Regions from separate parts of the Homo sapiens genome. Here region 2 is linked to region 1. The links are contacts of gene promoters, found by promoter capture Hi-C in blood cells and fetal thymus (Javierre and others, 2016). All regions are on one chromosome and are shown on one strand. Each heading gives the region's core, a stretch centred on a gene start or on the middle of the fragment in contact. The rest is flanking DNA. Distances are from core to core; before and after follow the strand shown.

What was found. Contacts are between HindIII fragments. The CHiCAGO score rates a contact against its expected background, and 5 or more counts as called.
Region 2: a contact is called between a fragment that was not itself captured here and the fragment with the promoter of KDM5C in region 1, in 1 of 17 cell types (neutrophils). The highest score is 5.9, in neutrophils.

Annotation. Positions count from the first base shown.
Region 1 is chrX:53,221,584-53,226,725 of GRCh38, reverse strand. It overlaps KDM5C (lysine demethylase 5C), which reads left to right and starts at 1,519. Exons shown (of 26, transcript NM_004187.5): 1 at 1,519-1,986. The coding sequence starts at 1,837. It also overlaps a transcript of IQSEC2 not described here. RefSeq lists enhancers at 1,198-1,247, 1,125-1,419, 1,258-1,637, 1,878-1,977. The HindIII fragment of the contact is 15,929 bases long and covers 1-3,211 here.
Region 2 is chrX:48,959,338-48,964,479 of GRCh38, reverse strand. KCND1 (potassium voltage-gated channel subfamily D member 1) reads left to right here. Exons shown (of 6, transcript NM_004979.6): 6 at 1,674-3,100. The coding sequence ends at 1,899. Among named protein-coding and RNA genes, the nearest start is that of OTUD5, 4.3 kb to the right of the region's middle. RefSeq lists an enhancer at 2,500-2,649 and a silencer at 2,598-2,892. The HindIII fragment of the contact is 170 bases long and covers 2,238-2,407 here.

The DNA of each region.
Region 1 (5,142 bases), core at 270-2,769:
CTGTGTGCCCTGTTCCCTCAGCCAGGATGTCCTTAGCTCAGTCCTGAAGTAGGCAGGATGGACCTAATTGGCACAGTATCTGATTAGGAACAGTTAACTGCACGAAGGTATGACACTCCCTATCTGCCTCGAGCTTACAGTGGATGTTTAATATGTTAAACAGGAAATGTTTGCAAAAAGTATTCATATTTTTCAGTCAATATATACTAAGGACATTTATTCATTTTTCTTTTGTTTACTCAACATTCATTTACTGCTTAACATGCCAAGTGCTAAGGATGTATAAGGCCACATGGTCCCTGCCCTTAAGGAATTCATAGTCTGATGGGGGAAAACAAAATTACTTAATCAGCATGTACGCAAGTACTCAAATATTTGCACAGTAGGTGTTCAAACTATATGCAGTAGGTCCACAGCTGATGAATGACACAGATGATCCTCCAATCAGTAGATGCCTGATGTATATGTACAAAGTACTGGTTTGATGATACTCATTCAAAGTACTGTAGTTGCAATGAACCTATTCAGAAACTGCTCAAGGAACATGCACACGATAGGACTAAATGTACATACAGTTGGTACCAAATGCACAGGGGCTATACACAATAAATACAATAAAAGTACACGGATGTTTGGTAAGTGCACTGTAGGCTCACAAATGGGCAAACAGGTGTTTTACACAGTTGACACTGGATAAATACGCCGTTGCTAAACATCCAATAGTTAAAGTATACATACACACAGGCTTATTTTGTAGGAGTATATGCCACAAATGTGTACATGGTAAAAGTGAATACAGAACAGTTGAAAGCGTTCATTAAAATGCTGACTCCCAGTGACTTTTGGGGGGTAAGAATCGAAACCCCATCTCTCTACCTGTAACCTTGGATGAAATAAAGATTTCCTTCCTTTACTTGGGACTCAGAATCCTAAAAATCCATAATCCCCGGGGAGTGAGCAGCTTCCTGCCTTCCTTATTTCAAAGCCCCAGAGGTGTCAGTGTCTAGAGCTGGAGCCTAGTACATCTCCCCCCATCCCGCGGGCCAGCATAAGGGGTCCTTTGCAATCAGGCTCCCAGAGCCGCCTTCCGCGGCCCATACCGTTAAGACCAGGGAGAAGGGACAGAGAACACTGGTGCGGGGCTAGCGACCTGGTTGAGGTCTGCGGGGGAGTGCCGGTTTGACTCCACCACCCACGGACACCAGCTCCTCTTCCGGTCTCCATAACGCGCATGCGCATCACTGGCCTTTAAACGTGCACCGCCGGTCCATCCGGAAAGACGATCCGGCAAACTAATTACAATCTTGTTCCTCCGCCGTTGCAATGAACTATTTTCTCTCAGTCCGGGGTGGTACTTTTGAGTAACCCCTTCCAAATAGAAACCCATACCAGCCTATTTAGCTCGGTCTCCACTATATGAAGGTTTCCTAGGGCTTGGTGTGACGCAACGTATACGAGGCTCGGAAGGACACCCCGCGGAAGGATCCGGTTTGTTGTGGTGTGGGGAGGGGAGACGCTGACAAACCAAGATGGCGGCGGCGGCGCTGAAGGCCGCGGCGTTTGGGAGGTAACTGTGGTGGCGAAGGCTGCGGTAGTGGGGAGGCAACCACACAGTTTGGAAGAAACGGAGCGGGACGAAGAGGCGGTAGCAGTAGAGTCAGCCTGAGACTCTCAGAGCACGACGGCCACACGCCCCCTTAGGCCCTCGGCGGGCGGCGGCTGCCCCGCTTAGGGCCTAGCCTCCGAGCATTGCCTCGGCTTCAAACAGCGGCGGCGCCATGAGTCCTTAAGGGCGGTCCAAGCCTCCCGATCCCTGGCCCAGACCTCGGGCCCACCATGGAGCCGGGGTCCGACGATTTCCTACCGCCACCGGAGTGCCCGGTGTTCGAGCCTAGCTGGGCCGAGTTCCGAGACCCTCTTGGCTACATCGCGAAAATCAGGCCCATCGCAGAGAAATCGGGCATTTGCAAGATCCGCCCACCCGCGGTAAGCCCCGGGGCCGGTTTTCGCCGGCGGCGAGACGGAATGAAGCAGTAGGATAGCCAGCGGCGAAGTCTGGGGCGGAGGGCAGCTCGAGGTGGGGAGAGGGGGTGGCTGGGACCGTTGTGGTTGCGGCGCGGATCGGAAAAAGGGTGTTGGGCCAGGGGTCCTCTCGTGGTGTGAGGCCCACAGGTGACCTGGAGTCAGAGATCCACCCCCACCCCGGCCCTTCAGAATCACTCCGGGTTTAAGACAGGGATTCCTAGTGGGCCGGAGGGAGTTCACAGAGAGGCACCCCGCACATCTCTTAGCCCGGGCCACCTAGGTCGAGGCTGTAAAAATAAGACGTTTCTCCAATCTGTTGTCATCACTTCCTTTAAGGCAGGCAGCATAGTATAGTATTAATAGAAAGATCGCAGTCCTGAAGGGAGACAGACTTGAGTTCAAAACTCCACTTTGAAGCTGAGCAGCTGTGTGACCTTGGGAAAGTAGAAGTAATCTCTCTGAGCCCGTGAAATGGATCCCAGAAATGGTTATTTAGAGGATTGAATTAAACTAGGTAGCGTCTGTATGTAGTACGCACTAGATAAGTGGTAATTATTGTGACTGTGAGGGTGTTTGATGTGGTCATTGGTTTATTCCTATGTAGGTTGACTCATATTTACTCATACCTTGCCAGGCCAATTCATCTATGATAATATCCTGGCCTGCTGGACCAGTCAGGAAATCAGTCTCACAGGGATTGCTCTGTCTCCCTTGAGGTGGGTTCAGGGAATTGTCCTCTTCTTTTCCTCGTTGAAGGCAATGTCAAGGCCTTTTCTGCACATCATCCCGCAGACTTGACTTCCTATGGAGATGTTTGGACCGGTCAGCTTGGTGGTGGGGTGTGAGTCCTTCTCAGAAGATTTCTACTCTCCTCTGGTCCAGGATGTAGGAGATCCCAGAGGATAGGGCACTCTTGGGCCCGCAGAACAGAATGGAGCCATGGAATTCTGTCCCTTTTGGAACATGATTGCCAGGGGTCAGCAACAAAGGCCATAGCTTTCCTCCTAGGCCTGGCTTCAGGCTAGAAGTCTCCCAAGGGCTAGGGCAAGCTGCTGCCTTGCTGATATGGTGGAAAAGTGATGATAATGTTCAGTGATCAGTTGGGATTCCAAGGGCAGAAATTGAGCTTTGCTGGAAAAGGGTGTTTTTGAGTGGGTGTCTCCTGGCTGAAATGGAATAGGAAGCTTCATTCCCACCTGAGGAGGGCACCACAGGCCTCCTTATCCAACTTGGTGCTTTCTGGTGCTCAGCCACAGATCTAGGATGGTTTCAGATAGATCCTCTAGGAGGTGTTGGGTAAGCGAATTTCTTCCTTCTTGGAGTCTGGCCACAGATTTCTGAGGTATCCTTGTCCATGGTGAGGGAGTGGCAGTGGGTAGAGGGTCAGGAAGGCTAGTGGAAGGGAGAGGCAGGAGTCCTGGGCAGCCTCAAGGAGGCACTCCCTGAAGTGGTTGGGCAAGCCTGTGGGAAAAAGAGGCATAGCTGACGTAGGGGGTAGTTGAGGCCTGAATTCCTTTTTTCTATCTTGGACTGACTTAGGCAGGCTGGCCTTGTGTAGGTGTTGTTACCCTGCTTTGGGGCATCAGGAAGGGGAAGAGTGACATGTCCCAGGTGTGCATGGCCAGCAGGAGGCCGTCCTTTTCACTGCTCAACAGTGTGCTTCTCTCTAATCCAGGATACCTGGCTCTCTGGTTTGGTTTTGTTTTTTCCTTCTCTATGGCAGCTCCTAGGCCACCTTTAGGCAGCTGGCCTTCTTCTGGTTGAAGTTTGAAGTACTCGCTCAAGTGATGCTTGGGCCCAGGGTGGGAACCTGTATATGGGTGGGTACCTGGGAATTGGAGGTTTGCTGGAGGAAGGATGGTTTGGGGCCTGAATTGCTGGGCAGGTGACTGCTACGCTTGGGAAAGATGGGTGGGAGGAGAGTGTGGGTACCCTGAGTAGACCCAGTGGAGTTTGGAAGGATCTTGCTTTCTTCATCAGGTAGCCAGCCTTTTTTTTATCACCACATCCCAGTAATACCAACATACATTTGGCATACAGTAGTCTGGAGATGAAGGCAGGCGGTTTGCAGGGCCTTCCCAGGTATCTGTTGCATCCATGGCTCCTGCCGTAGCATTCCAGGGCTGCCATTTCCTGTCAGGTGCTTGATGTTGCACTGATTGTCTAGAACTTGATTCAGCAGGAAAGAAGGGTGCCCGGAGTTTTGGGTTTGAGCACCTTTTTAGCTGGGTTACCTGTGCTGAGGGGAGTGCCCTATCCTGATGAGAGGCAAGAGGGCATGGGGAGCTTGTCTGGATTTGAGCCATACCATTTTGGCCTGCCTGTTTTTTTTTTTTTTTGTCCCTGCTTACTGAGCCCCAGATGTTTGCCACCTGCTTTGGCTGGTAGGGGCAGGGGAGTGTGGTCTGTGTATGCATGCAAAATATGAGTCCTCTAGCCCATTTTCTAAAAGTGTGTGTGCAGAAGAGGTCAACAGTTTTTCTTCTCTTTCACTGTCTCTCCCCCCCGCCCACGTGTATGCATGTATGTATGAACATTGATGTCTGGTGTAGTGCAAAGGCCTTGGATCAGAGGTCAGAAGACGTGGGTTCTTGGCCCCACCACTAACTCAGCATGTAATTTTGGAAATTTCACTTTTTTTCTCTGAGCCTCACTTTCCCCATTTATAAAATGAGAACATTGGTTTAGGTTACTTTAGGTTGATTTCACCACCCCAGCAGGAGCCAGGGCTCTGGGAAGGAGAGGTCTGCATAGGAGGTTGGAAAGGGGTGTTGGAGAGGGGGTTCTTCACAGCTGACCTTTGGGCAGGACACAGCAAGCTCCAACTTGGCAGAGCAGAGTGTCTCCCACTTTCATGATCTTTCCCTGACTTCCCTCCCCAAATCCTCCCATTCTTTGCCACCACAGTCAGGCATCCCAGCACTTACCCCCACCCCCTGGGGCTTCCTCCCCTGCCTCTTCCTGTACCAGGCAGGTGTATGAGAGAGGATCTACAGGAAGCCTTCCAGACTGGGTGAGTGATACACATACTTGCTCCCTGTTCCTTGCTCTTCCCTGCAGTGTCTATCTCAGGCCCTTTAAACTGAGAGAACAAACATTAAAGGCCCAAACCTTTAC
Region 2 (5,142 bases), core at 1,073-3,572, 4.3 Mb after region 1:
CGGTGGCGCGATCTTGGCTCACTGGAACCTCCGCCTCCCGGGTTCAAGCAATTCTCTGCCTTAGCCTCCCAAGTAGCTGAGACTACAGGTGCGCGCCACCACGCCCAGCTAATTTTTGTATTTTTAGTAGAGACAGGGTTTCGCCATGTTGGCCAGGCTGGTCTCAATCTCTTGACCTTGTGATCTGCCCACTTTGACCTCCCAAAGTGCTGGGATTACAGGCATGAGCCACCACACCCAGCCAATTTTTTATATTTTTAGTAGAGATGGGGTTTTACCATGTTGGCCAGGCTGGCCTCAAACTCCTGACCTTCAGGTGGTCCACCTGCCTCGGCCTCCCAGAGTGCTGGGATTACAGGTGTGAGCCACCACTCTTGGCTGGTGATGCAGTTTTAGTAGTGTGGTCAGAGAAGGCTTTACTGAGGTGACAACTGAGCCAAGACCTGAAGGAGGCAAAGGAGTGGGCCATGCAGATAACTAGAGGAAGAGCTTTCTAAGCAGAGTGAACAGCCTGTGCAAAGGCCTTGAGGCAGATGTGGGTCCACATTAGAGACATAGCAAGGAAGCTATCATGGGTGGAGGAGAGTGAGCTGGGGGAGACTGGTAAGAGGCAAACTCAGAAAGGAGCGAGGGTCCCACCTTAGATCCTACTATGGACAGTTTGTAAGGACTTGGACACTGTTAGGAGTAACCATGAGAGATAGCATTTTCATATGTATGCACATTGTGTTCCAGACACTGCTCTGAGCACTTCGTATCATTTTTAATCTCATTTAATCTCCACAGCAACCCTATGAGGTGGGAGATAGTGTTCGTCCCATGCTACAGATGAGAGAAGAGAGAGGTTTGGAGTGGTTAAAGTGGGACCAGGATTTGAACCCAGGACTATCTGACTCTAGAGTCCTCACTCTTTACCACCATAATTGGGGATGCAGGAGAAGTACTTAAGTACTTAGCACAGTGCCAGGGACCCAGTAGGTGCTCAATAAATGCCATGATTGCTGTGGCAAGTATTAATTTTTTTTTTTTTTTTGAGACAGAGTCTCACTCTGTCACCCAGGCTGGAGTGCAGTGGTGCAATCTCAGCTCACTGCAAGCTCCGCCTCCTGGGTTCACGCCATTCTCCTGCCTCAGCTTCCTGAGTAGCTGGGACTACAGGTGCCTGCCACCACGCCTGGCTAATTTTTTGTATTTTTAGTAGAGATGGGGCTTTACCGCGTTAGCCAGGATGGTCTCAATCTCCTGATCTCGTGATCCGCCCGCCTCGGCCTCCCAAAGTGCTGGGATTACAGGCATGAGCCACAGCACCCGGCTGATAACTTTTTTTCTTTTTTTTTTTTTGTTGAGACAGAGTCTCATTCCGTCACCCAGGCTGGAGTGCAGTGGTGCAATCTCAGCTCACTGCAACCTCTGCCTGCCGGGTTCAAGCAATTCTCCCGCCTCAACCTCCCGAGTAGCTGGGATTACAGGCATGCGCCACCATGCCCAGCTAATTTTTTGTATTTAGTAGAGACGGGGTTTCATCATGTTGGTCAGGCTGGTCTCGAACTCTTGACCTCAGATGATCCACTCACCTCGGCCTCCCAAAGTGCTGGGATTACAGGCATGAGCCACCGCACCCGGCCTAAGATAACTTTTTAAGAGCCTTCCATCTTCTCCACCCTTGTCCACAGCCGTTCCAGCCTCAATGCCAAGCCCCATGACAGCCTTGACCTGAACTGCGACAGCCGGGACTTCGTGGCTGCCATTATCAGCATCCCTACCCCTCCTGCCAACACCCCAGATGAGAGCCAACCTTCCTCCCCTGGCGGCGGTGGCAGGGCCGGCAGCACCCTCAGGAACTCCAGCCTGGGTACCCCTTGCCTCTTCCCCGAGACTGTCAAGATCTCATCCCTGTGAGGGGTAGGCCTGCTGATTCAGAGGGTCCTCTTCATTTTTGGGAACTCCTTTCCAAAGCCATATTTTTGGGAGGCAGAGAGGGGCAGGCTTGGGCACCCCTTCTGCCCCCCCCACTGAGAACTATGCAATGGAGTTTCATGAAATGGTCCACATAGTGGGGAAGTAGCCAGGAAATGAGAAACTTCCTCCCACCCCAGACATTTTTCCTGGTGGGAGCTGAAGCACTGGGCTTCCACAGGCCCCTGGCCTCCTTGCCCTAGCACACTGGGACTGGCCCCACTCTCCCAGCTGGACTCCTGCATGCTCCTCCCCTTGGGCTCTCAGATGAAGGCAAAGCTTTGATCCGACATCTGAGCTCTAGCCTAAGAAGGAGAGTTGAGATTTCCTCCTCCCTCTGGCTGGGATATGGAGCTTTGGAGGTTCAGAGAAGAGAACCCTCACCTCTGATCTGGCCTCTACGAGAGGTCCTCATCTCCATCTGGCCCAACAATTCCCAGATTCTGAAGCTTGGAATGCAAACACAGGCTTCATGGGCTGTGGCCTCTGCAGCGACCTGCCATCCCCAGGCCTTGCCTGAGGGGTCAGGCTGCCTCTCCCAACACACACTCAGATAGCACAAATTCTACCATCCCCTTCCCTGGCTGCTGGAAATGGACCCCGCAACCCTGTCCTCTGCTGGGCCCCCAGCAAACTCTAGCAATAGCAGCTGCTGCCGTGTCATTATGCAAAGCCTCTGACCAGTTTGCTGCAGCATTTACATCTGCCCTAATCAGAGGGGCCACCTCTAACTCCTCCTCCTCCTCTCTTCTCCTCTGGTTTGCGTCCTTCCTGGGTTGGGCTGGAGTCTGGACTGGCTGAGATAAGAGCCTGGCAACCAGCAAGAGCTGGGCTGTATTTGGAGATCATGGGCTGATTCCATGTTCTTGGGCAACAGTCCAGAAGCATCAGGGGCTCCGGCCTGGGATGTTTCTGAACTTTGGGAGTTATAGGAGACAGGAGGAACTTCTCCTCCTCCTCCTCCCCTACAATTCCTTTTCACATATTCCTTTCTTCTCCCTCTTGGGTGACCTTCCAAAACTCTGCTCTCAGGCTGAAATCTGGCATCATCTCAGGTTCCCTGTCCCCAGCACTGTCCCCATGGAGCTGGTGGCTGACAAAGATGTAGTTTCCATCAGTCAATAAAACCTGAGAGGAGAGATGAGGACTGAGAGTATCTCCTGGCTCTGTGGGTTTGGGGGCTGGGTTGGGCTTGGGGGTTGAAAACACTCTGATTTCAATCCCTTTTGGCTAGGAGAAGGGCTGGTATGGGTCAAGGTATGGGAGATGGATGGTTGGTGATGTATTCTGGAAGATGGGGATCCAGGAGAAATGAAAGAGTGTGGTTTGAGGAGTTCATCTACAGCCAGTGAGACAGGCCAGGGGGTCCTGAGACATTCCTCCTTGGATATCATCTGCGCCAGCTTCCTGATTCACAGATCGGGAAACTGAGACCCAGAGAAACACATAGTTAGTTAGAGGAGGCTTAAACCCAGGCTTCCTGACAGCAAACAACCCTGAATTTAACCCTAATAAAAGCATCACTTTGTTTGGTGAATTTCCCTTCCTTGTGGACGCCCCCTACATTCTCTCTTCTGGGCTACTGGCTACACTAGGCTAGTGTGTGGCTGAGTTCTATAGAGCACTGAGCAGACAGACCATGGATTCAGGTTGATCTGGGTTCCAATCCCTGGGTGAGAGAATCACTTACCTTCTCTTGCCTCAGGTTGCTAGTCTGTGAAATAGGGATAATTCATTTAGTCACCAAATATTTATTAACTTCCATCATGTGCCAGCCCTAGGGATACAAAGGTGGGCAAAGTAGACATTGTCTCTGATGTATAGTTGAGCATGGAAGGCAGACAAGTAATTACAACATGGTGTGGCAGAACTAAGATCCATGTGTTATAGAGGCATGCAGATGGCAGGAGAACTTAACCTGGCCAACACACAGGGAATGAGTTGGAGTTAGCCAGGCAGCAAATGAAAGGATGCAATGTTCTGGGCAGAGGGAACAGCATGTGCAATGACCTGGAGGTTGGAGAGTGAGCTCAGGCCTTTGGGGAACTGAAAGTAGTTCAGTCCAGCTGGGGAGGAGAGTGTGAGGCTGTGAGGAGAGGAAGGATGGAGAGGTAGGCTAGATAATAAAAAGCTTTGAAGCTATGACGCGAATTTTAAACTTCATCCTAAAGATAGTGGGGACCTCTAAAGACTTAAACAGAAAACTCATGATGAAGTTTGTGTTTCAGAATGATCATTCTGGCTGTGGAGAGTGGATATAGAGAAACAGTCCTGGAAGGAAGAAAAGTAGGGTGGAGGCTTTTATAATAGTCCAGGTGGTAGGGGACAGTGGCTTGGACCAGAGTAGTGGCAGTAGAATTGGAGAGTCTAGAGATTTGGGAGGCAGAATTGGCAGGACTTGGGATTGACAGGCATGTGGGAGTTGAGGAAGAGGGAGCAGTCAAAGTTGACTCCCAGTTTCTGGCTTGGACGACGGCTGGATGGGAGTGCTATTCCCTGGTAAAGGGAACATCAGAGCTGTCAGCACTCAGTGCTAGGTACATAGTAAGTACTTGGTGAAGGGTAGCCATGATTGCTATCATGAGTTCAGTTTTAGATGTGTAGTGAGTGAAATATATGGGGCTGGAGTGAGATGATCATGAGAAGATTCAATGTGATAATGTGCATAGGCATTTGGCACAGAGCCCTGAACACAACAGGCCCGGTAAACGTGAAAGTCCCCTCCTATTAAGTCTCATGAGCAGAAAACACTACTTAGAGCCCATTTATTACTTACACCTTTCAGGGAAGAATTTCAACTAGGGTTAGTATCTCAAGGGAGGCAAGGCTATACTCAAAACAGCTTTCCCATGGTCTCTTTCAGTCAACCTGTTGTATGGTTTGTCTCCTAAGACTGGAAGTGAACTCCAAATACCTTCTTGGTTCATCAGCTCATCTGAACCCCATAACCATTCCCTGAGGTAGTCTGGGCAGGTATTATCATTCCTGTTTTACACATGGGTAATCTCAAAAGTGACACAATGACTTGCTCAAGGTCATACAGTTGGTAATGGTCCATCTGTGCCTGGAACTGAGGTCTTTCTGGCTCCAAAGCCTGGGATCCTTCCACTGCACCACCATGCAGACTACTTTATTGAACACTTCCTATGTGCTGGGCACAGCACCAGGCCCTTCACAAGCATTAAT